Regions from separate parts of the Homo sapiens genome. Here regions 1, 3, 4, 5, 6 and 7 are each linked to region 2. Evidence: promoter capture Hi-C in 16 types of primary human blood cells and fetal thymus (Javierre and others, 2016). All regions are on one chromosome and are shown on one strand. Each heading gives the region's core, a stretch centred on a gene start or on the middle of the fragment in contact. The rest is flanking DNA. Distances are from core to core; before and after follow the strand shown. Region 1 has its middle 53 kb from the start of PRSS58. Region 2 holds the start of EPHB6 (EPH receptor B6). Region 3 holds the start of LOC105375547 (a long non-coding RNA gene). Region 4 has its middle 36 kb from the start of PRSS58. Region 5 holds the start of TAS2R38 (taste 2 receptor member 38). Region 6 holds the start of EPHA1-AS1 (EPHA1 antisense RNA 1). Region 7 overlaps EPHA1-AS1 (EPHA1 antisense RNA 1).

Region 1 (3,777 bases), core at 118-2,617, 540 kb before region 2:
TTATGAAAAAAACACGATTGCTGAAAATGGTTGATGAGCACAAGCATAAAGGAGGGGGAAGGAAATATTTCCAAGATCAAGAGACAATTCTGATGATCAGTGAGTACTTTATTCAACAGAAAAATATTTGGAGAGGCATGAAATTCCATGGCAATAGGTAAACTGGAAAGTGTTGAGGAGATGCCGGTGGAGGTAGCCTTGTGCGTTGTGGGCTCCTTCTCTTCAAGAAGGGTGACCAGCAAGTGTCTCTCCCAATTCTGATGAATATCATCTTGAACTGTCCTCAAGAGCAGGCAATAGCCAGATGACTGGGGATATTGGGAGACCTGAAAGGACTTTGGACACAAATCTCTAGGCAGTGGTGAGCCATTGGTCCTACTCCAAGTGAAACAACATGATGAAACTGATATTTTGGTAGAGGAACACTGGTAGTAGTATGGATCAGAAAGGAGATAGATTTTTGGGTGGCATGAATGATTAGGAGACTTCTAAATATCCTACATGAAAGATTAGAAAGGGTTGATGTGAAGCATTGTGGACAATATAGGCTTGAGGCTCTGCATTATGTTATTTCTTGGAAATGTATTGGGTTTTATTCTGGGAGGGTTGAATGTAGGACTTGCTAGGGTCTATTTCAGCCTTGCCCTCCCTCTTAGGGAGCCCCAGCATGTGGTCATCATTGCTAGTGCATGGCCTTTCCAGGGTCTTAGTGGGAATCACAGTCACCCACCACGACTCTCCACTCTCACTGGGTCTGAATGCCATTGCCTTCCTGCCCTGGGTATCCTCTGAAATCCCTGCCCGTGTCTACAGCCTTCCAGAGTTTGTTCTCTGCTGGGCCTTCGGGAGTGCCACCCTCTGCATACACAACTTAGGACCTGGCCCAGAAAGAAAAATAAAAAATGAAAAAAGATTTTCTTACACAGGTTCTCAGGGCTCCTTGGTAGTACTCTGTGTCCTAAATCCCAGCTGTCTTGGAGTCAGTTATGTCCTCTTATCTTCAATCACATATACTACTTCTATTTTATATAAATATGTTTACTTGGCTTTTCTTCATATTTACCATTCCACTCTTCACTCTTCTTGCAATTCACATGGTCCTGAGATCATTTTCCTTCTTAGATCCATCCCTAATTCAGACCACTTGAACTCGCTGGTCACCACCCCTTGTTGTGGGAAATGCTTATGTTAGCTGTTGTCCTCAGGACAATTAAACCTTTCGCTTTCACCATTATTCAAGTTTTCAGTTTAAATTCTATTGCTTTTTTTAAATTGTCTTTGCAATTTGGTTTACTTATTGAGAGCCAAACAATGCAATAAAATTTTATTCGTTCAAATTTGTTCTACTTTGTAGAAGGGCCAAAGTGTTTTCTTGCTGAAGTAGATACCAATGGAAACAATTTTAATGGTAATAATACTAGTGTTTAAAATAAGGCTAATTTTAGGTTTTTGTCTAGTGAATAGAATATCTCCAACTGTAGCAGGATAGAGATCGATCCTATATGTAACCTGTTGAGGGGGAGAATACTCAACCCCATTAAATTCTAATCTACATGCTTTACATTTTTTGTTTGTTTGTTTTATGGGCCACATTGAAAATCTGATGAAATTTTTGCATTAGAAGAATGCTACAATTTTCCTCCTGACTGAGAACATCCCCAGGTTAAAACAAATCTAAATTATAAATCCTTGACTTAAATCATGGATAAGTATCTTCCCTCAGCCCCATGTAGATTTACATATAACATAGATTTACGACCCTAATCTCATGCCTACAATTATAATTATCATCATGAAAAGGTAACACTGATGTAATACAACAATAAATAGATGGTAAAAATCACTTTGAAAGTATGAATCATCTCATTTTTGTGTTTATTTGTGTTCATTTGTATCTCCAAATGCTCTAGAATGAAAAGCCAATATTGGCATAAAAGTACCTTTTAAGAAAATTGATGATATTCCAATTCTTAACTGGTCACAAAGCATAAATAGCTTATGCAGTGAAGTACAGAAGACCCATAGGAAGTCATCCAGCTGGTTCCTAGTTGGAAAGTTCTCCACAGAACTGATGAACTAATGTGGTTTCTAACATCTTAGAAATGGCAGGGCTTTAGAGATCATCTCATTTCAGTTCTCCTGATTTAATATATGAGGAAATATGGCATCACATATATGAAGTGATTGAACAATGACATACTGATTACATTTCTCAAACTTTATGTAAGATATATTTTTATTCTCTAGTTGTTTTCTGAATATGTTGAATTGCCTTACACAAATAGAATTCTGGGGGTGAAAATGTTGGTGATTTTCTGCTTGCTCCTAGCTGTTGCTCAAGGAGTATTTGTTGAACAAGTCAGACTGGCCCAAGAACTCAAGAGGGCTGGGATACTGTCTGTTCTGCACATTACTAGAGATCCAGGCATAGACAATTTTCTGTTCTTTTTTCTTTTCTTTATTTCATTTCATTTCATTTCTTTTCCTTTTTTTTTTTTCTTTTGAGGGGTGTGGTGGGAGCAGGGTCTTGCTCTGTCTGGAGTGCAGTGACACAATCATGGCTCACTACAGCCTTGACTTCCATGGCTCAAGCAATCCTCCCACTTCAGCCTCTTGAATAGCTGGGACTACACACAGGCACCACTACATTCCGCTAATTTTTGTAGAGATAAGGTGTTGCCATGGTGCCCAGACACAGACATAGACAATTTCTGTTGAGTAAAAATTTAGAATGTCTTATGTGTGTGGATACCTGGCGTTCTGGCTGCTGACTCTCTGTGTTGTTGCCAACACCTCCTTCGTCTTCATTCTCCCCTGGCCTTTCAAACCCTTCTCTGCTGCTCAGGGTTGTGAGATGTGGAACCCATCTGGATGCTGACACTGGGTCGGTGAGTGGCCAAATACTGTTTTGGCCACAGGCAGGAGCTGTGCTCTGGTGAAACCTCTAAGGCAGGGACCTGGGGAAGGGATAGAGAATAAGAGGAGAGATGGGCCAGGAGGGATCTTGCCCATGGGGAGCCAACCGTACCTCAACTGAGAGCATGGCTGTACTCAGCTCAAGCACACTAACATCAGCTTCAAGCTGATTTCCCTTTCCTTTGCTCCACACACCTTGTGTTGTTCTTTTTCAGCATCCTGTGTATGTTAGCTCTAAGCCCAGCCAAGCCCCATGCCCTCCACTTCAGGGACAGAGGGTGGCTCATCCCTTTTGTGCTCCCTCAGCTCCCTCCCCAGTGCCTGGTGGCTGGTTGGCAACACAGTCATGCCCTTGAATGATGGGAGCTGGTGCACACTGCATCCGTGTTCATGCAGTCACCCTCCCTCCACAGAGCCGGGCAGAAAGGGCTCCACCACACTTAGACATTGAGGGAAGGGACGTTTTGAATGGCACTGTTTTATGTGATCCCGCAGGACAGAAGGAGATTTCTTGAATGGGAGTGGTCTGTTGTTGAGAGGGATCCTGAAAGACAGGGAGACAAAGATAGAGGGAGGATCCACATAATTAGGAAGCAGCTGAGAGCAAAGGAGCCCCTGCCAGAGGAATATCCTTGGGGGGTAAAAAGCCGGCTCTGCCCTTTCTCCCCAGCCGATTCATCCTAGCCCAGCAAATTCAAATCTACCTTCTATCAGAACTTAGAAAGGATGTAAAGCAGTCAGGAAGAAACATCCCCTGGGTCTGGGGAAACTATCAGGAGCAGTGACATCACAAGAAAAACCACCAAGCAGGGCCAAGGAGACCAGAGCCCAGCACCTCGCCCAAAGGACCCCAGTCAGAGG
Region 2 (3,614 bases), core at 889-3,388:
TATAACACTTCTAAGCACCTGGAGTGTCCCAGGCACCAAACAAATTATAGCAAAAAATTTACATTAAACTTTAAAAAGGAATTCATTACTTTGCTTTTTAATAGCTGCAGGTTGCAGCATACTTTAACAATGCATTCTATGCTCTCCACCTACCATTAAAACTTGGTTTGATAAGACATAGGCAATTAGGATGCAAAGCCGACTAATCACAAATTTAAACCTCTTTGCATCCTGAGTATGACACTTCCTTTGAAAACTAGATGCCTCTCAAATTTTATTAACAAGACAAATATAACTAATTACACAAGCCTTGAGCAGCAAAAACTTCATTTCATATTATAGTCACCTAATATGAGGTATATCATGAAATAGAAAAGAAGGCAGATATTTTTACTGTTATGTCAATACAGGATACGTTGCAAATTACTACAGGAATTTCTGGGTTTTATAAAGTAACAACTACGGTTTGGTTTTGTCCATATTTTTATTTTAACATAATCTAGTTATGTGTCTTTTTTTTAAGTTTTCAATATAACCATAGATGTCTAGCAATCAGGCATGTTAATGTATGAGTTACGTAATTCCACACACAATGCAAATTCTGTTTCTTTGCAGAAGTCTTTGAAAGCCTTGGAGATAACCAGAAAATGAAGGAAGCCCTCCACCACTGAGTTTCAGGGCAAAGGGAAGAAACAAGATAAAGTAGAACCGTCAGTACAAGTGGAATTATTAATGACGTCCAAATGCAGTCATTAAATACTATCAGACTTATTTATTGACTCCTGATATTAAGAGTGAACAAACCCCTGGCCAAGTGGGAACTTGCTCGGTAGCCTTTATCTTTCTATCACTCATTCAGTCAATTCATTAAAGCCTGTTTGTCTCTCCCAGGTGACTCTTACTGAGTTTCATTGTTTTGTTTATTGTGTTTGTTGGCTCATAGATCTCTTTCACAATTTTCTTCGGCTTCTGAATGCTCTTTAAGTACCAGTTTTGATCAGCCCATTTGCTTTAATAAACAGGAGAGCAAGATGGGACAGGGCGATACAGGGAGAAAAGGGGGCAAAGGGAATCGCACCGGGTGCTTGTGCTCCCTAGAAAAACCAGCAGGTGGTAGCAACACTTCGTGGCAAGGCCCCAGCCCAGCTCTGTAGGACCCAAACAATAGACCCCAAATCCCCGTCCTCGGCTAGAGAAGGGGTTAGAGGTGGGCGGAAACACTTTTCCTCGCGGCGCCCCCTCGGTTCCTCAACCCTGCCTCCAGGCGCCAGCTGAGAGCACCTTGCACCGCCCCTCCTCACTGCAGGGAGGTTCTCTCCGGAGCGCGGGCGAGGGAGGAGGCACCCAGAGGTGCAGCGACTTGCCCAAGCCATGTCAGAGCCAGGCGTACAGCAGCGCTTCCCCTTTTCAACCCGACTGCCCTGCCCCTTGGGGAGGGTAGATGGAGGGAGGTTCGACTCAGAAGCCCCAACGTTGACCAAGATCCAGACACGAAAAGAGAAAAGAGTTCCCGGCTAGCACGGCGACGCTTTCATACCGAGACGCCCCCCTCTCCCGCTGCCTCGGCTCCCCCTACCACCGCCCGTACTCTCCCAGATTTCTCAGTTTGTCTTTCCCTCCACCCCCTGCTTTTCCTTCCTTCTCTCTTGCTCAGCTCACGCCCACCTTAGTTCCAAGCTGAGTAGGAGCCCCACTGTTTTAGTTCCTAGAGTTAAAGCCGAAGAGGAGGGAGGCGCGAGGGGGTGTGTGCAGGGCTCTGCCCTGCCCTGAACTGCCACGGTCCGCCAGTTGCGCTTCGCTCCGCGGGTGTCCGACCCAAGCCGAGCCCGAGCCCGAGCCCAGGCAGGGGCTTTACAGACAGCCTCTTCCCTTCCCACTTCCTGCAGGCGCCCCACGCGTGCGATCCTCCCGGCCAAGACCCGCGGGAGGAGGCCGCCCCCTTCCCGGCGCACAGGCGGGGCCCCGGGCGCGCCCCGCGTCTCCCCCGCGCGCCGGGGCGGAGGAGCGGGCGCCGCGCACTCACCGCCTAGGCCGGGAGGGCGGGCTCGGCTCCCCGGAAGAAGGGAGTGGGAAGGCGGCCAAAGGGGCTGAAGGGGCGGGCCGGGCCGGCTTGGGAGGGGACGCGGAGGGGGCGGGCCGGGCTGCGTTCGCTCCAGCCGCGGCTCTACAGCAGCGGGCGGCGGGACCCGGGACCCAGCTTGGCGACGGCGATCTCGACGCGGGCCCCCAGGATCTCCCGGCGCCCCACCTCTGGAGCAGCCCCTGCCGCCAGCGTCAGGTCCACCCCGGAATCCCAGGGACTCTCGGCGCCGAACGGACCCGGGCCGGGTGCAACGGGGTCCCCGGACTGGAGAAGACGCGGGTGGCACCGTGCGAGCTCCAGGAGCCCCGGGTCCACTGCGAGGCCTCGGGGGGCGCAGACCTGCAGAGACTGCGGCCAACGGGAAGGTGAGCCCGCGGGGTTAGCAGGCGGCGTTGTGGGGGTCGGGGACAGTATGCTTGGGGACAGAGGAATTAAGGTTTGCAAGAGTAGTGGGGCTCCTCAGCCCCTAGGTGGCTTCCTGAGGGAGTACTGAGGATCCTTCCTCAAGGCCAGAGTGGGGTTCATGAAGGGTGAGGAAACGGTCAACCTGGCTACTCCCCTCTCACTCCACTCTGACCTGGCATCATTGACACCGCATTACCCTTGCTGTTAGGATCCCCCAGTTGCGTTCCCAGACATTCTCCTCTGGCTCTGGCTTGGGAGTCCTAATCTGGGAGGGTCCTCGCAGAGACGGAGCTCCACGCTTGGAACAGGATTGCCACCCCTCTGACTCCAGTGGCATCACTCCAATCCCCTTGGAGCTGGGAGGAGTCAGGAGGCTGACCACACACCTGTCCCCTGCTCCCCACAAGGCACTGTCCCCCCCAGCTCCATGACCACAGTTAAGCCTTGGAGGTGGAAGGAACGCTTGGTTCCTGCTGCCCAGCCATCACCCCCAACGTGCAACCAAATTCTATTGCGTGCTCCTGCCCCAGCTCCACCCTCGCTCTGCTCCCTCCATCTGGGTGCTTGGCCCTGCTTGCCCCACACCCCCACCCACCGATCTTGGCCGTCTGGCACCCTCTCTCCTCCCATCCCTGGGGGAGCTGGCATGGACCCAGCATAGCAATGTTGTAATGTCCCTGGCAGCGCCCATGGAGCGGAGCTGCTGGGTCTGTTCCCAGTTAACCCAGGCCCTCCGCCCGCCAGGGGAACTTGACTGAGGCTCTAGGAGGGGAGATGCTGGTCCTGAGCTGAGAGACCAGTGGGAGGGAGCTGTGTGGGGCTGTTAGTAGACCACAGAAGCTGCCCAAGTAAGGGGCATTGGAGCATTGAGGCTTCTGAGTGCTGCTCAGTGGGGCCACTTGGCTTTTCAGAGCAGTGGGCCTTTTTTCTCAAAGGAAGATTAGCGTGGGGGTGTCTATGTACTTACCTGGTGGCCTCAGAAGGAGGACTTGTTTGGAGTCTATTACTCCATTCAGGGTGCAAAAAGATGGTTGGCAATGACACTGAGTTACCAGAATGCTGGGGAGCAACAGGCTGGGGTGGGCTGAGCATGGGAAAGGCAGGATCCTCCTTCTGGGACGGCTGT
Region 3 (3,864 bases), core at 1,276-3,775, 640 kb after region 2:
GTCAGCAGGTAGGCAGCCCCAAATAAGATAAAGAGTCCAGCCTGGGTCTGCCTGTCACTGGAGAGACCCATTAGGATGAACTCACTCACCCAGGTTATGTTGTCCCTTCCCAGTTGGGACATTGAACCTCACTTCTTCAATCTAGGTGGTTAGGAGGGAATGCAAAGGTCTTGGAGAAAAGGACATTTGGTTTCTGACACTAAACCAAATTCTGAGAGGTTCTGAAGGACAAAGTCCCTGTTTTGGCCATCCTTTCACGTCGAGGACCGATCACAGTTACAGTTGTGTAGGAGGTAATCTATCAATGTAGAAGGAATGATAGAGAAGAAAGGATGAAAGAAGCAAAGAAAAACTAAGGAAAGACAATAGGAAAATGGAAAAGGAGGGAAGGAATGTGGAAGATATGAAAGAAAGGAAGGATTCTTCACTGTGGGGAAGCAGTGGGTAAAGTATTGTAATCAGACACTTGAGAACTGTAGGCATGTCCTAGGATTTCTCAGCTCATTTCTTAACTCTGGATTGAGCTGCTCTTCCTGCTTCTTCTAGGGTCCACTAAGTCCAGACAGGAATCCTCTCACATCCTTTTCATTTCTCCCACAAGTCCAGATAAAGCTGAAGTCCTTGAAACCAATATCTACTAATCCCCTGCTGGTGTGCCAGGGTCTGTGCCAGGCATTGGTTACCTGCTGGTAAGTAAGAAAGATAGAAACACGGGCCCTTGCTTTCTTGATTCTTATAATTTATCTAGGGACACAGAGATTACATCAATAATTACAAATAATTAATTAAGTATAATTGTGCTAAGTGCTATGAAGGAGAAGAACAAGGTTAGTATTTGGCTAATTAAATTTGGAGCTTTGTAATTAAATTATGACAGTAGTTATGCCTTACTCCTTAATAACATGCAATTTATATAGTGAGTTTCAGGCATTTATTTAGATGTTTAAACAAATGATTAACAAAGTAATGTTGTGATGCAAGCGTTCGAAAACCAATGATACTCATGTATTACTACTGAGTATGAGGTGATAGAAACCCACAGAATCTTTTCAAACAGAGTGAATTCTCCCTTGTCAGCCAAGGTTGTACCAGTTCATCTCCCTTCTACCATGCTGACTGGTCCTCTTGAAAAATAAAATTAAGTGCCATCACTTTTTCTTAATATAAATATAATCTCCAGATGTATTTCCTGCTCTTAAAAAATTTAATTAACAAACTGATTCATTTATTAAAACATTATTGAGTATATCAGGCACTATGCTTTCAACCAACCTCTAGGAAATTCCACCTTTCAATGTTAGGGATTTGTGTTTAGAAAATCAGCAGTGCCAGAGGATCAAATAATAAATTTTTAAAAATGGATTTTGGTCAAATCTGAGAATCTAATGAGAGCATGTTTGTGCAAGCCACTACAGCCAGAGGACAAATGCCATACATCTGCATTAAGAAAATGAGAGCAGAACCACAGAATAAAATGCAAGAAAGCTGAAATGCATAATTCAATTTATGTTTCTTCTGGCTGGAAACATTGGTGGAGGGAGAGAGCAGAGAGGACCTGGATGGAGCTGGCATCTTGTCTCCATTCAGCCCTGGTCCTGCAGTGGCCAGAAGGTGTCACTGTAGAAACTGCTAAGAATAGAAACTGGCCTTGGGTTCTCAAGGTTGGAGATCAGGTTCTAGGGTCAGAGCCAGGGGCTGGAATTTTGACTGCTGCCCTAGGGAGATGGTTCCCTTGTATCAGCAGAAGTAGATCAATGCTGATCTACTATGATCAGTATGCTGCTTGTTACTATAGACAGAATCTTCACCTTCAGAGTTGGCCTCAAGGATTGAGATACCCTCCAGAAGGTAACCACAACTGTTTAAAATGAAAAGAAATATAGGGGCTAAGTGTTTCATTCCTTTCATTTTATAAACAAGGAAACCAAGGAATAGGGCTACGGTGATTTGCCCAGGTCTCAGATCTACCTGGAGACTAAGCTGGAACAAGGGTCAGGGCTGCCCTGCACATCTAGCTCTACCCAAGCCCATGAGTGAAGGGTGGGAAGGAGTTCTGAAAAGCTGTAGTCTAGGAAGGGAGGCACCTGAGGAACCTCAGATGGGAAGCTCAGGACAGCCATCTATCCTTGAAGAGAAAGACATGTGGTGTGGGGGTAAAGCTTTAAATAAGTCAAGGGGTCTGAGTTTGAGTTTGCCTCTTCCATTAGTCTGCTATGTGCAACTTACTAGACCTCTATGAGCCTCAGTTTCTTCATTTGAAATGCATGAATAATAATAATGCTTATCTCACAACATTTTAAGTAAGATCAGATGAACAAATGAATATGAATGTGCTTTGTAAAGTATAAGTAAACGTAAGTGGCTGTTACTATGCTCAACAAGTCCAAATTACAGAGGTAAAGTCTACCCAGTGCCATGGGGACAAGAAACAATAGAATATGTGCTATAAACGTCAGAAAGTTTTCAGAATGTGGGTCATAAAGCCCCTTGAAATGCATTATATTGCTTAAACCACCTAATTACAGAGACCCTGTTAAATATAGTGAAGAATCAAAGTAGAGGGTTCACCTGTACTCAGTGAGTAGGTAGTACATGCTCTGCACACAGTGTGAACTTAGTACTATTTTATTCCAATACATTTTGGTGATGTTTTTAGATGATGAAAAACTATTTTTATTGATAGATGGCCTCGTTCTTAGCTTTTTGGGACAGAGAATTTTATTCCACTTTTCTCACCTTGGTAAACATGTACTGAGCACTGTTCAGCGCCTGGTCCAGTGGAAGGTATTGGGATAACAAATCAATCAGTCTGGTCTCCTGCTTAGGAACTCAGCCTGCAGGGAGAATAGAAAGAGTGAGTCATCATGACCTTATCAGGGGAGTTTTCAGAGGAAGCTTGATGAAGACATCTGGTAAGAGGAGACATAGAGTCTGGCTATGTAATCAGCTCAGCAGATCTGTAGAAATAATAAAGTAGAAACAAAAAACAAAACAAAACAAAAACAAGAAATAGTGCTCTTGCCTCTTAAAAAAGTAGATGAGGTTTAAGGTATGCTAAGATTCATATAAGGAGGCCTGGGCTTCAAGCTGTATCAGGAAACCATCTACGTATCCATTGGGTACATTGCTACATTTTAAAGCCACAGTTTCTTCATCTACAGAATGAGCAAGTTAGATTAGGTACATTAAGATTTCTTCCAGCTCTAAAGATTTGTGATAAGTGAATATACATAATCTGTGGTTTAAAGTAGTATAGAAGGGAAAAATAGATCCTTTGGTGTTTGATTGCTCTAAGCATGCATAGCTAGTGGGACTGTAGGCAATGAGATATGAATTAGTGGGTTTTGGGTTCAAAGGATTCAGATCTCACACATAGCTGATTGGGGAGGTGTCAATGAACGGGACTAATTGACTCAAAACCAGAGACTAAGGAAACGGGGAAGAGGACTACACCAGTAGAAATGGCAAAACTACTTGGGCCAAGGCTGAAAGGCTGGTAGCCTTCTGATACGTAAGCCTCCTTCCTAAGCACTGCAAAAGAAACTACCATCAGAGTGAACAGGCAACGTACAGAATGGGAGAAAGTTTTTGCAATCTACTCATCTGACAAAGGGCTAATATCCAGAATCTATAATGAACTCAAACAAATTTACAAGAAAAAAACAAACAACCCCATCAAAAAGTGGGCGAAGGATATGAACAGACACTTCTCACCATCTTCTTTATCAAGAAAAGATGAAGGTCTATGTCTATCTTTGGTTCTTATACCAATCCAAGCCCTTCTCCATTCCTTCTTATCTCCAACAGAATAGAAATGCCTCAAGGCCAAGAAAAGAGTCATCTCCCTTTTGACTTCCATTCTTT
Region 4 (3,809 bases), core at 1,236-3,735, 560 kb before region 2:
ACCTGGTAGAAACTGTACCCCATAATAGGTAAGTAAGGCGGAGTAAGGTCACAGGACAGAGTTACAGGTGTCCAGATTCCCAGATAAAAAATCTTAAGTAGTTGGGCATCTCAACTGTATATGTTTATTCTAAGAACGACTGCACTTTTGAAGTTTCATAATGTAGACTCTTTTACAATTATATACTTTGTCTTTTGACTGCTCTGGTCTTATATATCCATGTTAGCTTTTCTCTTTTTAAAATTTCAACTCTTATTACAAATTAAAGGGTACATATGCAGGTTTTTTGCATAAGTAAATTACGTGACACCCAGGCTTGGGGTCCCAACAACCTCATCACCCAGGCAGTAAGCATAGTACCCAACAGGTGGTACTTCACCTTCTCATTGTTAAAGGAACAGCTTGTTTCCCTTAGAAAAAGAAGATTGCTATTAATTGAACTTATAATAGAGAAAAGGAGGAAAGTTAAAAAATGCTAATAACTTATAATTTTCTTGAGCTTATAATTATCTTGAGCTTACTGTACTTATTCTAAGTACTTATTGAATAAGTCAGTAAGTATGTAGAATACTGACATACACGTATGTCAGGGATATTTTAAGTATTTGCCCATATTAATTTAGTAATCTTCACAACAACCATATAAGATACCTATTATAATTCCCACTTTACAGATGTGGAAACTAAGGCACACAAAACTGTAGGGGATTTGACCAAAATCACATAGCAAATACACGGTAACATCAGCATTCCAACCCAGAAAAATCTTCCTTCAGAGTCTGTGGTCCTGACCACTATGAAACACTTCTCTCAGTAAGTTCACCAAAATCTGGATGCCAAGATAATGCAAAATTCTTGGACAATGATAACATAGCTGAAATTTTTAAAGTATTTACTATGTGTCCAGCACTGTGGAAGTGGATTACGTGCATCAACTCATTCAGTCTTCACAAGCAGCATCGTAAGTGTTAAACTACAAATTTCACCATTTAAGAGATGTGGAGAAAGAGGCTAAAAGAAGTCAAGTGAGTATATCAAAGTTTCATAGCTGTTAAGTGGCCAATCTATGGTTAAAACTTAAGCAGCCTCACTTCAGGGTTCATGCCCTCAACAGTGATGCCGTGAATATAATAAGAGAGAACAGGGCTGGGCGCAGTGGCTCAAGCCTATAATCCCAGCACTTTGGGAGGCCGAGGTGGGCAGATCACGAGGTCAGGAGATCAAGACCATCCTGGCCAACATGGTGAAACCCCGTCTCTACTAAAATACAAAAAAAAATAGCCAGGCATGGTGGCGGGCACCTGTAGTCCCAGCTAATCAGAAGGCTGAGGCAGCAGAATCGCTTGAACCTGGGGAGTGGAGGTTGCAGTGAGCCGAGATCACACCAACCAACTTTATCGATATTCCAAGACCTCTGGGAAACAGCAAGAGTATGATAGGAGACATCCAGACATTCATCAGGAGGATTCTTCATTTTTCAAGTATGGCAAATATTGTTGCTGAAGTTATTCATAAACATGCCTTCAGAGGGAAGTATGGGATTTACAGACCTCATCTGGTTAAGGACTACTCTTGACTTTCTTGATTTAATAGAGTTTTACTGTGATGACACAAAGCACTGTTAAACAGAGCTGCGTTACTCGAAGAATGAAATACTTTCAATACAACCAATGGATAAATTCTTCTCTCACTGTGCACATTACCTCTCTTGGCCTTTTTATAATCTAATTTCTTATCATTCATAATCAGTCCCTCAAATACTGACTCTCACCTGAGCTCTTCTCAGATCCAACTTCTACTGAACATGTCTGCTCCCATACCTAGGGTCAGCTAGTCTAGCGCTGAATTCATCATAGCTTTCTCTTTCTATATTTTCTGTCAGTGCAATGAAGCTACACACATATGGTTAGCCAAACTTGAAACACAGAAGTCACCCTTAACTTTTTTTTTTTTTTGACTGAGTTTCACTCTTATCACCCAGGCTGGAGTGCAAATGATGCGATCTCGGCCCACTGCAACCTCCTCCTCCTGGGTTCAAGCGATTCTCCTGCCTTAGCCTCCCAAGTAACTGGGATTACAGGCGTGTGCCACCATGCCGGGTTATTTTTGTATTTTTAGTAGAGATGGGATTTTGCCATGTTGGCCAGGCTGGTCTCGAACTCCTGACCTCAGGTGATCCACCTGCCTTGGGCTTCCAAAGTGCTGGGATTATAGGCCTAAGCTACCACACCTGGCCCACCCTTAACTTCTTTATCCACCTTGCTTACTACCTGTATTCAAAGTCTTGACGATTTTACCTGTCTTAAAGATCCTTGACTTTTCTTTGAAGATCCTTGATTTTCCTTTCAAGTCAACCACCTATGACTTGGTTCAGTATCACATTTTCTCTCCTGAATTATTGAAATCGTGCTAAAACCACTTCCTTGTTTGTGGCTTTATTCTCCTTCAACTCACTCTCCACATCAGAGTAATCTTTCTAAAATGCACATGGATCATTACATTTTCCGCTTAAAATGCTTTGGTGGCTCCACATTGACATCAGGATAAGTTTAAATTCCAGCACCAAAGTTCATGTTCTTGGACACTGTATGCTGTTTTAAACCTCTGTGCCTTCCCACACACCTTACCTGGTTAACTCCCATCATTCTTCAACTCTAATCGTGGAGAACTCTGAACTCCACCTGCATTCTCCAACTAAAGTCAGGCCTTCCTGAACTTTCTAGGCAGCTTTACTTTCATTACATTTACTTCCAGTCACATATTACTTGTATAAATATCTGCTTAATGTCTATTTTTTCCAGGTTGTTTAAAATTCCTGAGGGCATAAATGATGTCTGATTTGCTCACTATTACACCTCAAAGCCGGTATGTACGTGGCACATAGTAATTGCTCAGTGAATAACTGCTGAATGAATGAATGAGGTTACTTTCCCTCTTTGCTGGTGAACTTCTAGTCATCCATTAAATTTACCTGAAGTATCATCTCTATCTATAATTAATCTCTGACATTAACCTATGACCTCCCCTAACTCTACTGCCATAATGCCCCAATTGGTTAGATGCTAATCCGTTCTATTTCTTATCGGTGCCATTTTGAAACCCTGTGCATGTTGCTATTATAACTTTTGAATTTTGTTGCAGGCTTTGATTTCCTTTTCTCTTCAACTAGAATACGAGCTTCTGAAGAAAATATTGTATGTTAAAATTTCCAGTTTATGACACTGTCTCTGGCATAGAGTAGATGCTTAAGTTCTTCTGTTCTTCTTTGCCCCATTGGGCACTTAAGCCTTGTCCAAAACATCTTCACCAACAGTCATCCAGCCTCTATTCTGGACAGGAAACCACAGGACCTTCTGGAAACTTCTTCCTTCTGTCGAGCTGGAAAATCGTCTTGTTAGAGCTTTGACTCTTTTTCTCTCTGTCCTATAGCTTGGGGACATAGGATCAGGAGAGAGATAGTAAGAAGATAAGTAGACAACAAAGCGAAAAGAAGATTGTAGGTTCTAAAATAGTTAAAGATGAGTCAGATAAGTGAAAACTCCAGCCCAGCAAATATACATTTTTCTCTTTAGGTAGCAGTTACAAATTGTGAAAGGAAATCAAAAAAGTGTCTCCCTGTTACTGGGAAATAGCATGCCAGGTAGTAGTAGTCAAAGCTAATGCTGGCTTCTTTGTAGACAATTCAGCAGAAATAGTTTCTTAGAAAAAAAATACTTGGAACAGGATTAGATAGATTGCCCTAAGATCTGGCTTAGAGTACTCTCCTTCAAAAAACCTTCTCCAATTGCATCAATCCCCAACTGATAATT
Region 5 (3,746 bases), core at 1,188-3,687, 880 kb before region 2:
AGGGCATCTAGAAGAGTGGATCTCAACATTGGCTGCACCCCGAAATCACCTGAGGAGCATTAAAGAATAAAAGCCTCATTTCATCTCAAGAGATTTGATTTGATTGGTTGTATTTGGCCTGGACATTGAGATTTTTAAAAAGCCCCTTAGATAATTTCAATGTGCAGCCAAGAGCGAGGACCTAGGTCTTTAAGGGAATCCTGGGACAACTTCAGTGTCCACCAAGGAAAGGAAGCCAGATGAAGTTGCAAATTTTGTAGCCACTGCAGGTGAAGAAATGGCTAATTTTTGGAGGAAAACTGAGGTGAAGATCTGGATCTATTAAGACCAAGTGCCTGAGAGGAGGAAACAGTTCTCTGGCCCCACAGCTGGCAGAACTAAGAGCCTTGGTGGTGAGCTGCTACAACTGTGAAGCCTGTGAACCACGAAGCCTATCAAGATTTAAATGTCTGGTATACCTTGTTTTCTCCTGAGTCTTTCAGTACCTGATTTGAGGAAAGCCTTCCTGGCTGGGTTCCTGTGCAGGAATACAGACAATGCCAAATCTCTACAAATTTACCTTTCAGCTAGGTGATTTTGGTAGGGTCTCCAACCAGAGAGACCAATACTTGGTACCAGGCAAAGCACCATCTTCAAAGGCAAATTGGGCATAGCCAGAAAGCCCACACAGGGCACCTACTGGCATCCAGGTCACCTACTGAGCAAATATCTGCTTCTCTTCCATCATTATAGAGTAGGTAAAAGTGCATTTCTGGATCAGTGTATTTTCAGACAAAACGACCCCTATCCTCTCGTGCCTCTTGAAGTTGAAGTTATGTGGTACCTCTTGAAGCTGGAATTATGACATAATTATCATTCCAAGTTTGTCTTTGTTTCCATGAAAATTGCGAAGTTTGAAGAGGATTATATCCTTATTGTAGTAGTGAATATTTCCAAAAATGATGCTAGCACAAGTTCCGAGAAAGAGGTTTAACAGTCATGTTAAAAGCCAAACATATTATCTTGGGATTTAGATATTATTTCAGAAGAGATGATTTCTCATGGTTTGATTTATACCAATAATAAGCTATAGTATATAAAGGATTTACACCAAATACTTAATTATTTTGTTCATTTTATCAAAACAAACCTAGGGTACCAACATTATTCTTGCCTAGGCCATGTATAGTGCTTAATTATTTTATTCATCTATAAGTGAGTTCATTGATACAAAGTGGAGAGACTTTCAATTGTGTTTTATAGAAGAAATTGGAAGGCTTTGTGAGGAATCAGAGTTGTATTCCTGAAGAATCAGAGGCATATTTATGAAGACTCACAGGCGTATTAATGAAGAGCTCATTTCATGTCCATTCTCAGCACAGTGTCCGGGAATCTGCCTTGTGGTCGGCTCTTACCTTCAGGCTGCTCTGAGCCCAGAGCAGAATGGTCATCACAGCTCTCCTCAACTTGGCATTGCCTGAGATCAGGATGGCTGCATGCCCAGAGGGACAAGCTGCCATTATCCCAACACAAACCATCACCCCTATTTTGTCGCGCCACAGAATCAGTAGGGGCACAGAGATGAAGGCAGCACAGGATGATATCACAAAGAAGCAGAAAAAGGAGACAAGAGACTTGAGGGCTTTAATGTGGGCCTCCAGGCTGGGGTCACGAGAGTTTCTGGTATAGACCTTCATTGTCCTCATGTGCCTTCCCAGGGAGACAGTCAGCATCCCAGAAGAAACCAGAAACAATAGGAAAGGAGGCACAGACCACAGATAGCAGAAGAGAAAGGAATAAAATAAATTGAGATCTTTAATCTGCCAGTTGAGCCTTGTATTGTTATTCATGAATAGCACAGTTGTGACTGTGAAGTGAGGTCTGCTAAAAAAGCACCAAACACAGAGGACAGTGCAGATGCAGGAGCAAAGAATAATACCCAGGAGCATCTGGGAGATCTTCCTGGAGACCCAGCTTGCCAAGCAGATCAGGAAGGTGTGAGAGAAACGGATGAGCTTGGAGCAGTAAAGCAGGCTGAGGCAGGCAGCAAGCCAGAGGTTGGCTTGGTTTGCAATCATCCATAGCATGATGATGGCTTGGTAGCTGTGGTTCAGTGGTTCACTCAACTTCTGGAAGTGGGTAAGCTGGATAGCACTCAGGAACAGCAGTCCATGCAGGAAAAGCCGGCTGATGCTGAGACACAGCAGCACACAATCACTGTTGCTCAGTGCCTGCCTCTTCACTACATCCCAAAAATTCACCAAGAAAACGAAGGCATTGGTCAGAAACCCCACTGCAAACTCCAGGACTGAAATGAACAGAAATGTACTCCTGACTTCATAGGACACAGTGCGGATGCGAGTTAGAGTCAACATGATGTCACTTCTCTAATTGGCTATTCTACTTCTCTTCTCTAGTTGGCTAATCTAAAGACCTGGTTGCCACCCAGTGCAGAAAGGTAAATGTACGTTCCAAGCCAGGACCTTTCCTTCACAAAGCATCCAGCTCTTTGCCTAGATCTATCCCAAAGCGAGCGCATAAAAAGTTCTGGCAGGAAACTTAGAGGGATGTTGTTTCTCTAGAACATCTCTTGGATACACGTAAGAGCTTATCATAGGGTGGAAGACTGATGGTTCTACCTCTTGGGTGATGCAAGATTAATAAATCCAGGTGTTCCTGTACAACCGCCTTCCCAGAAGGCCATAGCACAGCATCACGGATGCAAACAAAACAGGGCCTCAATTTCCCCAATCCAGTTTTGCATGCCCATCTGGACCTGTGGGGGTGGCGAAGAGAACAGGATTTGCTTATGGGTTTTGAGGCACCCTGCAGCAGGCAAAGCAGATATTCTTGGTGATCTAAGGTTTGAAATAGAGTCTCTTTTCATTTGCATTCCTTCTCTCATCTGTGAAGTAATGACTCTTATCACAGACTGTGTTTTTAATATAGATAAATGCATGGTTCCTTTCCATGTGTCAGTGTATGATTGCAGTTTTATTTGCTGTTGCCAAAGGTTTCATGCAATCATCATTATTATGCCAGGCACTGTGCCTGGCAAGGAGAATATTAACATGAACAAGACTAGCACGCTGTCATGAAGGGAGAGGAAAGGGGGCATAGCTGGTTTGGATTATTATTATGTTTATTTTTTAATTAGTATAAGTTCTGGGGTACATGTGCAGAACATGCAGGCTTGTTACATAGGCATACACCTGCCATGGTGGTTCGCTGCACCCATCAACCCGTTATCTATATTAGGTATTTCTCCTAATGGTCTCCTTCCCCTTGCCCCCTACCCCCTGACAGGCCCTGGTGTTTGATGTTCCCCTCCCTGTGTCCATGTGTTCTCATTGTTCAACTGCCACTTATGAGTGAATTTCCCCCGATAAATCCTTTAAGAGTTATTGGTGCTGCCCCATTGGTGTTTTTCGATACTTTCTCTTTGTATTTTTTATGTTTTCTTTTGACTAAAGCTCCTTTTTTATTATTAGTAGTGACATAAGTCAGTGATTACTAAAGATGTTCACTTTTGTTTTATTCTGAACTGTTCATACGCAGATATTTATGTAGTCCTTATTTGTGCATCATGATGTAGCAGTTGTATTTAATTAATTGTGTTTGTGACCACTTCATTTGGGTCATTCATGCTTACAGAGTGTCAAACACAGAATTCTGCACTTTCAACTTAAGCTAATTTTCTCCTTGTCTTCACCACACCAGGTGGCGGTGTTGCACTAAAGGTGTTTAGAAAAGATGTTTGCCTCCCT
Region 6 (3,367 bases), core at 679-3,178, 550 kb after region 2:
TGAAGTCTCAAGTACTGGGGTAAGGAAGGAAACCCTGAGAGAAGGGGTTCCAGAGCCAGAGTTGTAGATGCTCCAGTAACTTAGGCAGCCCCCTAAGTGGTTCTGTGACCAGCTGTGCTGCTGGCAGAAAGGGTGCTGTGAATTGTAAAATATATATTTGGTCTTTGTCCACATTTCCTGGCAAACAACCCCTAAAGCCCTCAAAATCCCTGAAGTGACAAATGTCTTTTTATATGCTAGTGAGCTGACTGCCGGGGATGGGAACTAGACTGGGGTGGGGGAGGCCTGGGTGGCAGAAGGCAACCTTGTGATTGGAGTTGGGACTTTCGGCCCCACCCCCAACTTCCAGGGAAGGTAGAGAGGTTGAAGGTTGAGCTGATAACCAGTGGGCAATGATCTAATTAATCACGCCTATGTAATGAAGTCTCCATAAAAGCCCAGAAGGATGGGGTTGGGAGGGCTTCTGGATGGCCATACATGATTAGGTCCCTGCAGGGTGGCTCGCCTCCTTCACATATACCTTGCCCCATGCAGCTATTCCATCTGGTGTTCATGGTACCATTTGTAATAACCGTTATAGTAAGCCAGTAAATCCAAGTCAATGTTTCCCTGAGTTCTGTGAGCCATCCTAGCAAACTAATTGAACCCGAGGAGGAGGGTCAGGTAAACCTGATTACAGCCGATGGAACAGAAGTATAGGTGACAACATGTTACTTGTGATTGTTGTCTAGAGGAGGGCAGTCTTGTGGGGCTGAGCCCTCAACCTGAGGCTATCTCCAGGTAGATAGTGTAAGAACTGAATAAGATTAGAGGACACTCAGCTACTGTCCACTGAAGAATCTGCCAGAGAGAACTGACTGCAGGCGGGAGGAATCCCTACACGCATTTTGGTGACCACAGGTCACCGAAGTGATTTGTGTTGAGAGTGCAGTAGGAAAAAACTGAGTTTGGTTTTTTGTACATCATAAGAGCTGCTCTCTGCATTTGAGTCTGAATATGCTCTCTCAGACCCACCTCACAACCTGTTCACTGAGTCTTAGGAACATCCAAGGAAGGAAGGGAACTGGAACAAGCTCTGACACTTTCAAACAGCTGGAATGCATGGTGTGCACGCAGTCAGCCTGAGGAGGTGTGGAGGATGAGCTAAGGGCTCAGAAACCTTTAGGGGAGCAGCTTTTAACTTCGGAGGAGTCAAAGACCCTTTGAAGAATTTGATGAAAGCTTTGGCTGGTCTCTCCAGAAAAAAAAATGCCCGCTTACATATACAGAATTTAGAGTACACTTTCATGGGGTTTCCCCACCCCCTGAAACCTATCAATGCAACTTCATTGGGATGAATGGATCTCAGATTGAGGATGCTTTTCTGCCTTTTCTATCCCTCCCCAAGCAAAGCACTGGTCTCAGCCTTCAACCATCCCCAGCATGGTGCATTCTCTCCCCGGGTATGTGAGCTCCTCTCCCCCTCACAAGTATCAGCTTGTATTCACAATATTCCCAAGTATTCACTGGAGGAGCCAGGCCATTCAAGCGTTCATCTTGAGGTGAAGTCTGACCCCCCCACCCCTTGTCCCATTGAGGAGGCTCTGACTCAGCCTCCTCTCCCCCTCCCTGAGGAGACACTTCCAGTTTTTCCTGCTCTTTTCTCTGTTCCTCCACCCACCTCTCCACCCCATTTCCCACTGGCCTTCAGGAGTTTTCCAAGATCCTTCCCTCTTCCGACACTTACCCCATCTTTTGGGGGATCCAGCAGCCAGCCCAGCTCTCCCTGTGCCTTGCTTGTGTCCATCAGAGTAACTGAAAGTGGGGAGAAAAGAAGTCTGTCACCTCTGGGGGAGGAGGTGCCCCTGCAGCCCACATTAATCATTCTGGGGCCTCAGCCCCAGGCTGCAACATCCTGTTCCTAAAAGCTGTGACTTCCTGAGGCTTAGGGGAGAAAAAGGGCTCAGGACTGAGGAGTGAAGAGCTCCAGGGATTTCACTCTTCTTTGTGTGTGTGAAGGAAGGCAGGTAGAGTGGGACAAGGGTTGGGGCGCTGGGTCTTTGACCAAAGTCAATGCAAGAAGAGCAGCCCCACGAGACGCTCAGTTACCCAGGCTGCTGCGTCCTGGGACACCCATCAGCTGCAGGATTGGAACGCGTGGAGGGCAGGAGGAGCTCACCTCTGCTAGCCAGGAGTGGGCAGGGTGGACCGGGGACCTCAGAAGGGGTTTCCTGGGTAGGGAGGCTCACCTCCACTGTCCGAAGCCTGCTTTGGCCTGACCTGGCCAGTGATCAGAGCCGTGAAGTGGGGATAAGAGGCACAGCTACCTGCCTGGGAAGTGGGGGGGAGTAAGGCCGGAGAGGGTGTTCCAACTTTCACATGGAATATTCGACTCGGACAACTGGGAACCCCTGTGGCGTCAGTCCTAACCCTTCTCCCGGAGGCAGCTCCCTCTGTCCCTGGCCTAGGTTGGCAGGAGGCGACTTCCCACCTTCAACTTCCAAGGGCTCAGATCTCTGGGGTGGGCACCTGAAGCTGGGACTGTCTGGGAATGCAGGCAGGGGTGCGGGTGCAGGTGCTACTTCCTGGCAAGGGTCCGGAATTCCCTCCCCACTCCCAGGAGCAGATTGCTGGCCTGCGGGAGTGGGGGTGACTGACCCGGGAGAGCAGCCGCTTGGGGTTAAAGACCAAAGATGGGCCTGGCCAGTCGATAGCCTGGCGGTCGGGCACAGCGAGAGAGCTGGCGAGGGTCTCGGGGAACATGGCCCCTAGGAATGCCGGCTTCTGCAGGGGGGTGCTGGCCGGGCCCCGGGAAGGGGCGGGGCGCGGGGGTTGGGGGCGCGGGGGCGGGGGTCGGTACCTTCCTTGGCGCGCGCCCCCGGGGGCAGCGGGGCGCAGAGCAGCAGCACCAGCCCTAGCCCCAGGGGCCAGCGCCGCTCCATAGCTCCGGGCCGGGACCTGGGACAGTGGCCCGGATGGCAGCGCCAGGTTGCAAGGGACTAGGAGAGCCGGGCGGGCCGGGCGGGGGCGGGGGGCGGGGCCAGCGCCGGGGGCGGAGTCCCGGCCTCACCTGGTTCACCTCCTTAAAGGGACAGTAGGGCAGGAAAGAAACTTGCTAGACTGGTAATCAAATTCAAGAACCGGAGGCGTCTTGACCCGAATGAGACTGCGGGCGCCGCCTAGTAGGTGGGATTAAGAATTGACGAACCTTTTCCCAATTCTAATCCTAAACTCAACCCAATCTTGATCCAGCTTTTAACCTAATTCTACCTCTGACTTGAATTACACTCCTATATTCCTCTTTCTGTCTTTGTGCAGGCCCCAGAGCTGGGTAATAGGGCCGGGGAAGGCAAGGGGTAAGAGTCATATCTTCACCCTCTAGCAGGGG
Region 7 (3,526 bases), core at 712-3,211, 580 kb after region 2:
TTTGAAATAGTATGTAGAAGCTCAGTATATAAAATACATATAAGCAGGACTGCTGTGTTTGAAAAGGAAATGAGGGTTTATGGTTCTACTTTCTCAGTTCTCCTCTTACCCTTTCCCTACCATGAGAACTCCCTGGAAAGCATAATTTGTAAACCACTGATTTAGAAATTATCGAACATAACTTATCCCTCCAGTAGATGTTAGACATTGAGTGAAGTTCATGGCATTATGGGAAGAACGTTTGATTTATTCCTTTAGAGATTAATTTTATTGCTTCTAAATGCTCGAATGGAGCAAGGCAAAGAGAAAGATTCATTCTAAAGATCTTTTAGTTGAAATAGAATTGGACTCAACTTCCTTGCAGGCTAACTTTATAATTACAAAAATAACTATCAAATGCTATTTTTTATTTGAGAGGAAAGTCTGTAGATTTACCTGAATATTAAACGATATTCAACTGTACATTCACATTTTGATAATGGAAGATGTTAGAAATTCCCAAATTTACTTTCAGAAAGCTAAAATTCTCTATTATGCCGGATTGCTATTACAGCCAATGTTTATTCTAAATTACTTACTTAAATATAAGAGTCAGAGGAAGTCTTCAGGGTGAGAAAAAATATTTAGGGCTTATCTTGCAGGGAAATCATTATTAAATTTGTGCATAGTTTAGCTTAACATTTATGTGCAGTCTAGCCATTAAAAACATTGTTATTTCCTTTTTCCTCCACCTTTCCCTGGAGTGGGCCATCAGTTACCCGATAAAGCCATGGAAATACGTGGAAGTATTTATGCAATGCACGTCACTCAAAGGTTCAGTTGGGAATGGGCACCAAGATTGAGAAACCTGTCAAATGAAATGTATTTTTGTATGTCTCTAAGATGAACCAAGAATTCATTCTCTAAGAATTCAAGAATGTATTCTTGAATGTGATAAGAAAAAGAAAATAAAAACAAAAAACAAACGAATCAACAGAAACCAAAAAGCACTTTACTGGTGTAGAGGACTAACGTGAGGGAAGTGCCAGTAGCTCTTTGCAGAATCTTCCATTTTAATCCAGTCTTCTGCTGTTACCTGTTTACCATTACTACCATTTCACAGAAGACTCAGACTTCATCCTAAAAAACTATCTCCAGTCATGCTGCAGAAAATAATTCGTTAGCTTCAGCTGCAGGAATGAGACACCTTTAAAAAAGAGAAATGTGACCCAAACTTTTGTGAGAAACACCTTGTATTTTGATTGCTATTTCACATTCGAAGGACTCTTGAAAAACAGAAAAAACCTAAAACATCATCTTGCTTATGGTATCTTTTGGTGGCAGACTATGAATGGGACATGGGACCCCCATAAGATATATCTAGTGAAGCACTGAGAGATGGATAAACAGGTGCCTGCGGGAAAGGTACTCTTTCAGCCTTCTTATAGAAGAGTATTGAAACAGGAGAAAATGTTTACTTTCTAGAGCTATCAACTGTAGAAAGGAAAAGTCCTGGGGAAGACTTGTTCTGGCAAAGTGCACGCTTTGGCACCTCTGCAGAGAACATGAAGTTTGCCCGCAAACATTAGATGTCTACTTGGTTACACGTGACCGCAACAGGGCGTGTGTACCATGGCCTCAGCTCGCTTCTTGATGACATCATGAATCTGGGCTCCGGCCAAAGGATTTTGAGACGAGCCAAAATGCTGTGGAGCATGCAGAAGCCACTCATTGCTGTTGTCTTCAAGAAGCCAGAGGAAGACATGCAAAGAATTAAAGAAAGACGCTGAAGCTGTGTTACAAAACAGTTGATCAGGTTGAATTATCCGCTCTCTAACAATCTTTTGAGAGTTCAATAAAAACTAGCAGCTCTTCAATTAGCCGGGCGTGGTGGCGGGCGCCTGTAGTCCCAGCTACTCCGGAGGCTGAGGCAGGAGAATGGCGTGAACCCGGGAGGTGGAGCTTGCAGTGAGCCAAGATCAAACCACTGCACTCCAGCCTGGGCGACAGAGCGAGACTCCGTCTCAAAACAAACAAACAAACAAACAAACAAGCAGCTCTTCAAGCAATTGCTATATTCGAGAGCTGAACCTCTTTTTCTTGAAGTCGCCACCACAAGTGTTTGTCCTTGTTTTTATTTCTCTTTAATCTTTCACACACAGGCCTCTCTCACCTGTAGAATCTTGAGTGAGACCATGGGAAGTAGGCAAGGCTATTTTCTGTGACTCATCTTGGTGGAGAGCCCTGACTCCAAGATCTGAGACATTTGCCAGGGGATTCCCTTCCCTGTTTTTCTATCCACACCTCTGCTTTCTTCTACCCTCCTTCTCTCTCTTCCCTCTTAACCCTTTTGTTTTTACTTTTTCCACATTCATAGGCATTCTTTCCTCAGTTGAACCTGTCCTCATGGCTCCCTGAGCCTGGGTTGGCTGATCTGAACCAGTGTCATTTTGTGTGGTTGGCGGTAAAGGCCAAATGTAAGATGTGTGAAATCACTTTAAAAATGACAAGGTGGGGCCCTATGCAGTGGCTCACACCTGTAATCCAAGCACTTTGGGAGGCCAAGGCGGGCAGATCACAAGGTCAAGAGATCAAGATCATCCTGGCCAACATGATGAAACCCCTTCTCTACTAAAAATCCAAAAATTAGCGGGGCATGGTGGCACATGCCTGTAGTCCCAGCTACTTGGGAGGCTGAGGCAGGAGAGTTGCTTGAACCCGGGAGGCAGAGGTTGCAGTGAGCCGAGATCACATCACCGCACTCCAGCCTGGCGACAGAGTGAGACTGTCAAAAAAAAAAAAAAAAAAAAAGACAAGGTGTTTCAGCAGGGTGGTTTTTACTATTATATATTCAGTATTGTTATAGGACAGGGCTCACTCCACATAAAGCAAAACTTCCCTGTGGCCCAGCTTTGCCCTGAGCTCCTCTTGTCATTCCACCAACTCTTGCTTCCCCCAGCTCCTATGGTGATGTCCCCTCTGGGTCAGTTTCCCTTCTCTGTCTTTCTCGTCTTCTCATTATGATTTATCTACTCTCTCTCATTTCCTCAGAGGCTTCTTAGGAACTGATTACTTTTGGTTGATCAAGCACTCTGGAGCCAAGGGGATAACAGTTAACAGATGATGGTAACATATCAGAGAAATCCACATTTTAACTGGAGATTCCATGAACTCCAATATGGAGCTTGACAGTGAAATTTTAGGCAGCATGAGAGGCCAGTGGTTAGGGGGCCTTTTCTTGGTAATGTGAAGCCTTGTGCATGCGAATGATTTTTCTGTTCCACCCATTCGGGAAGTGAGCTAAGGCAGTGTATAGAGGCTACTGAATAAAATATTAAGGCAGGACGTGAAGGGAAGGTTTTTGGTTTGGGGAGGGCAATAAGAGTAACAATGTCTTTTAAAGAAGAGTTAGGAAAGAAATAGTACAGTTAAGACATCATGTACAAAATGTGGGTATTTTCAGTCACCCCAGCAGCCTCTATTCTGTTAATGTTTCTCTGCATCTGGCTCTGAGAAAGGACAGGCAAATACAGGTTATGCAAATAGA

What was found. The method cuts DNA at HindIII sites, captures the fragments that hold promoters and counts their contacts. A CHiCAGO score of 5 or more calls a contact.
Region 1: a contact is called between a fragment that was not itself captured here and the fragment with the promoter of EPHB6 in region 2, in 6 of 17 cell types (fetal thymus, non-activated CD4 T cells, naive CD4 T cells and 3 more). The highest score is 16.3, in fetal thymus.
Region 3: a contact is called between a fragment that was not itself captured here and the fragment with the promoter of EPHB6 in region 2, in 1 of 17 cell types (monocytes). The highest score is 6.2, in monocytes.
Region 4: a contact is called between a fragment that was not itself captured here and the fragment with the promoter of EPHB6 in region 2, in 5 of 17 cell types (fetal thymus, activated CD4 T cells, non-activated CD4 T cells and 2 more). The highest score is 9.9, in fetal thymus.
Region 5: a contact is called between the fragment with the promoter of TAS2R38 here and the fragment with the promoter of EPHB6 in region 2, in 2 of 17 cell types (fetal thymus and naive CD4 T cells). The highest score is 7.3, in fetal thymus.
Region 6: the fragment with the promoter of EPHA1-AS1 here is called in contact with the fragment with the promoter of EPHB6 in region 2 in 2 of 17 cell types (neutrophils and non-activated CD4 T cells); the score reaches 13.6 in neutrophils.
Region 7: a fragment that was not itself captured here is called in contact with the fragment with the promoter of EPHB6 in region 2 in 1 of 17 cell types (neutrophils); the score reaches 5.9 in neutrophils.

What each region holds. Positions count from the first base shown.
Region 1 is chr7:142,309,412-142,313,188 of GRCh38, forward strand. It overlaps TRB. Among named protein-coding and RNA genes, the nearest start is that of PRSS58, 53 kb to the left of the region's middle. The HindIII fragment of the contact is 5,998 bases long and covers 1-3,777 here.
Region 2 is chr7:142,852,938-142,856,551 of GRCh38, forward strand. EPHB6 (EPH receptor B6) reads left to right here and starts at 2,139. Exons shown (of 20, transcript NM_004445.6): 1 at 2,139-2,448. The HindIII fragment of the contact is 5,828 bases long and covers 1-3,614 here.
Region 3 is chr7:143,489,290-143,493,153 of GRCh38, forward strand. The region is part of intron 2 of EPHA1-AS1 (EPHA1 antisense RNA 1); the gene reads left to right. LOC105375547 (a long non-coding RNA gene) reads left to right here and starts at 3,688. Exons shown (of 2, transcript XR_928075.3): 1 at 3,688-3,864. It also overlaps the pseudogene OR2R1P. RefSeq lists a silencer at 2,687-2,981. The HindIII fragment of the contact is 736 bases long and covers 2,158-2,893 here.
Region 4 is chr7:142,291,846-142,295,654 of GRCh38, forward strand. No RefSeq gene overlaps it. Among named protein-coding and RNA genes, the nearest start is that of PRSS58, 36 kb to the left of the region's middle. The HindIII fragment of the contact is 5,747 bases long and covers 1-3,809 here.
Region 5 is chr7:141,971,336-141,975,081 of GRCh38, forward strand. TAS2R38 (taste 2 receptor member 38) reads right to left here and starts at 2,438. Exons shown (of 1, transcript NM_176817.5): 1 at 1,296-2,438. The coding sequence starts at 2,354. The coding sequence ends at 1,353. The HindIII fragment of the contact is 7,298 bases long and covers 1-3,746 here.
Region 6 is chr7:143,405,885-143,409,251 of GRCh38, forward strand. EPHA1-AS1 (EPHA1 antisense RNA 1) reads left to right here and starts at 1,929. Exons shown (of 5, transcript NR_033897.1): 1 at 1,929-2,002. It overlaps EPHA1 (EPH receptor A1), which reads right to left and starts at 2,972. Exons shown (of 18, transcript NM_005232.5): 1 at 2,840-2,972; 2 at 1,727-1,794. The coding sequence starts at 2,921. RefSeq lists an enhancer at 3,044-3,367. The HindIII fragment of the contact is 7,900 bases long and covers 1,220-3,367 here.
Region 7 is chr7:143,433,263-143,436,788 of GRCh38, forward strand. The region is part of intron 2 of EPHA1-AS1 (EPHA1 antisense RNA 1); the gene reads left to right. Among named protein-coding and RNA genes, the nearest start is that of TAS2R60, 8.4 kb to the right of the region's middle. The HindIII fragment of the contact is 6,221 bases long and covers 1-3,526 here.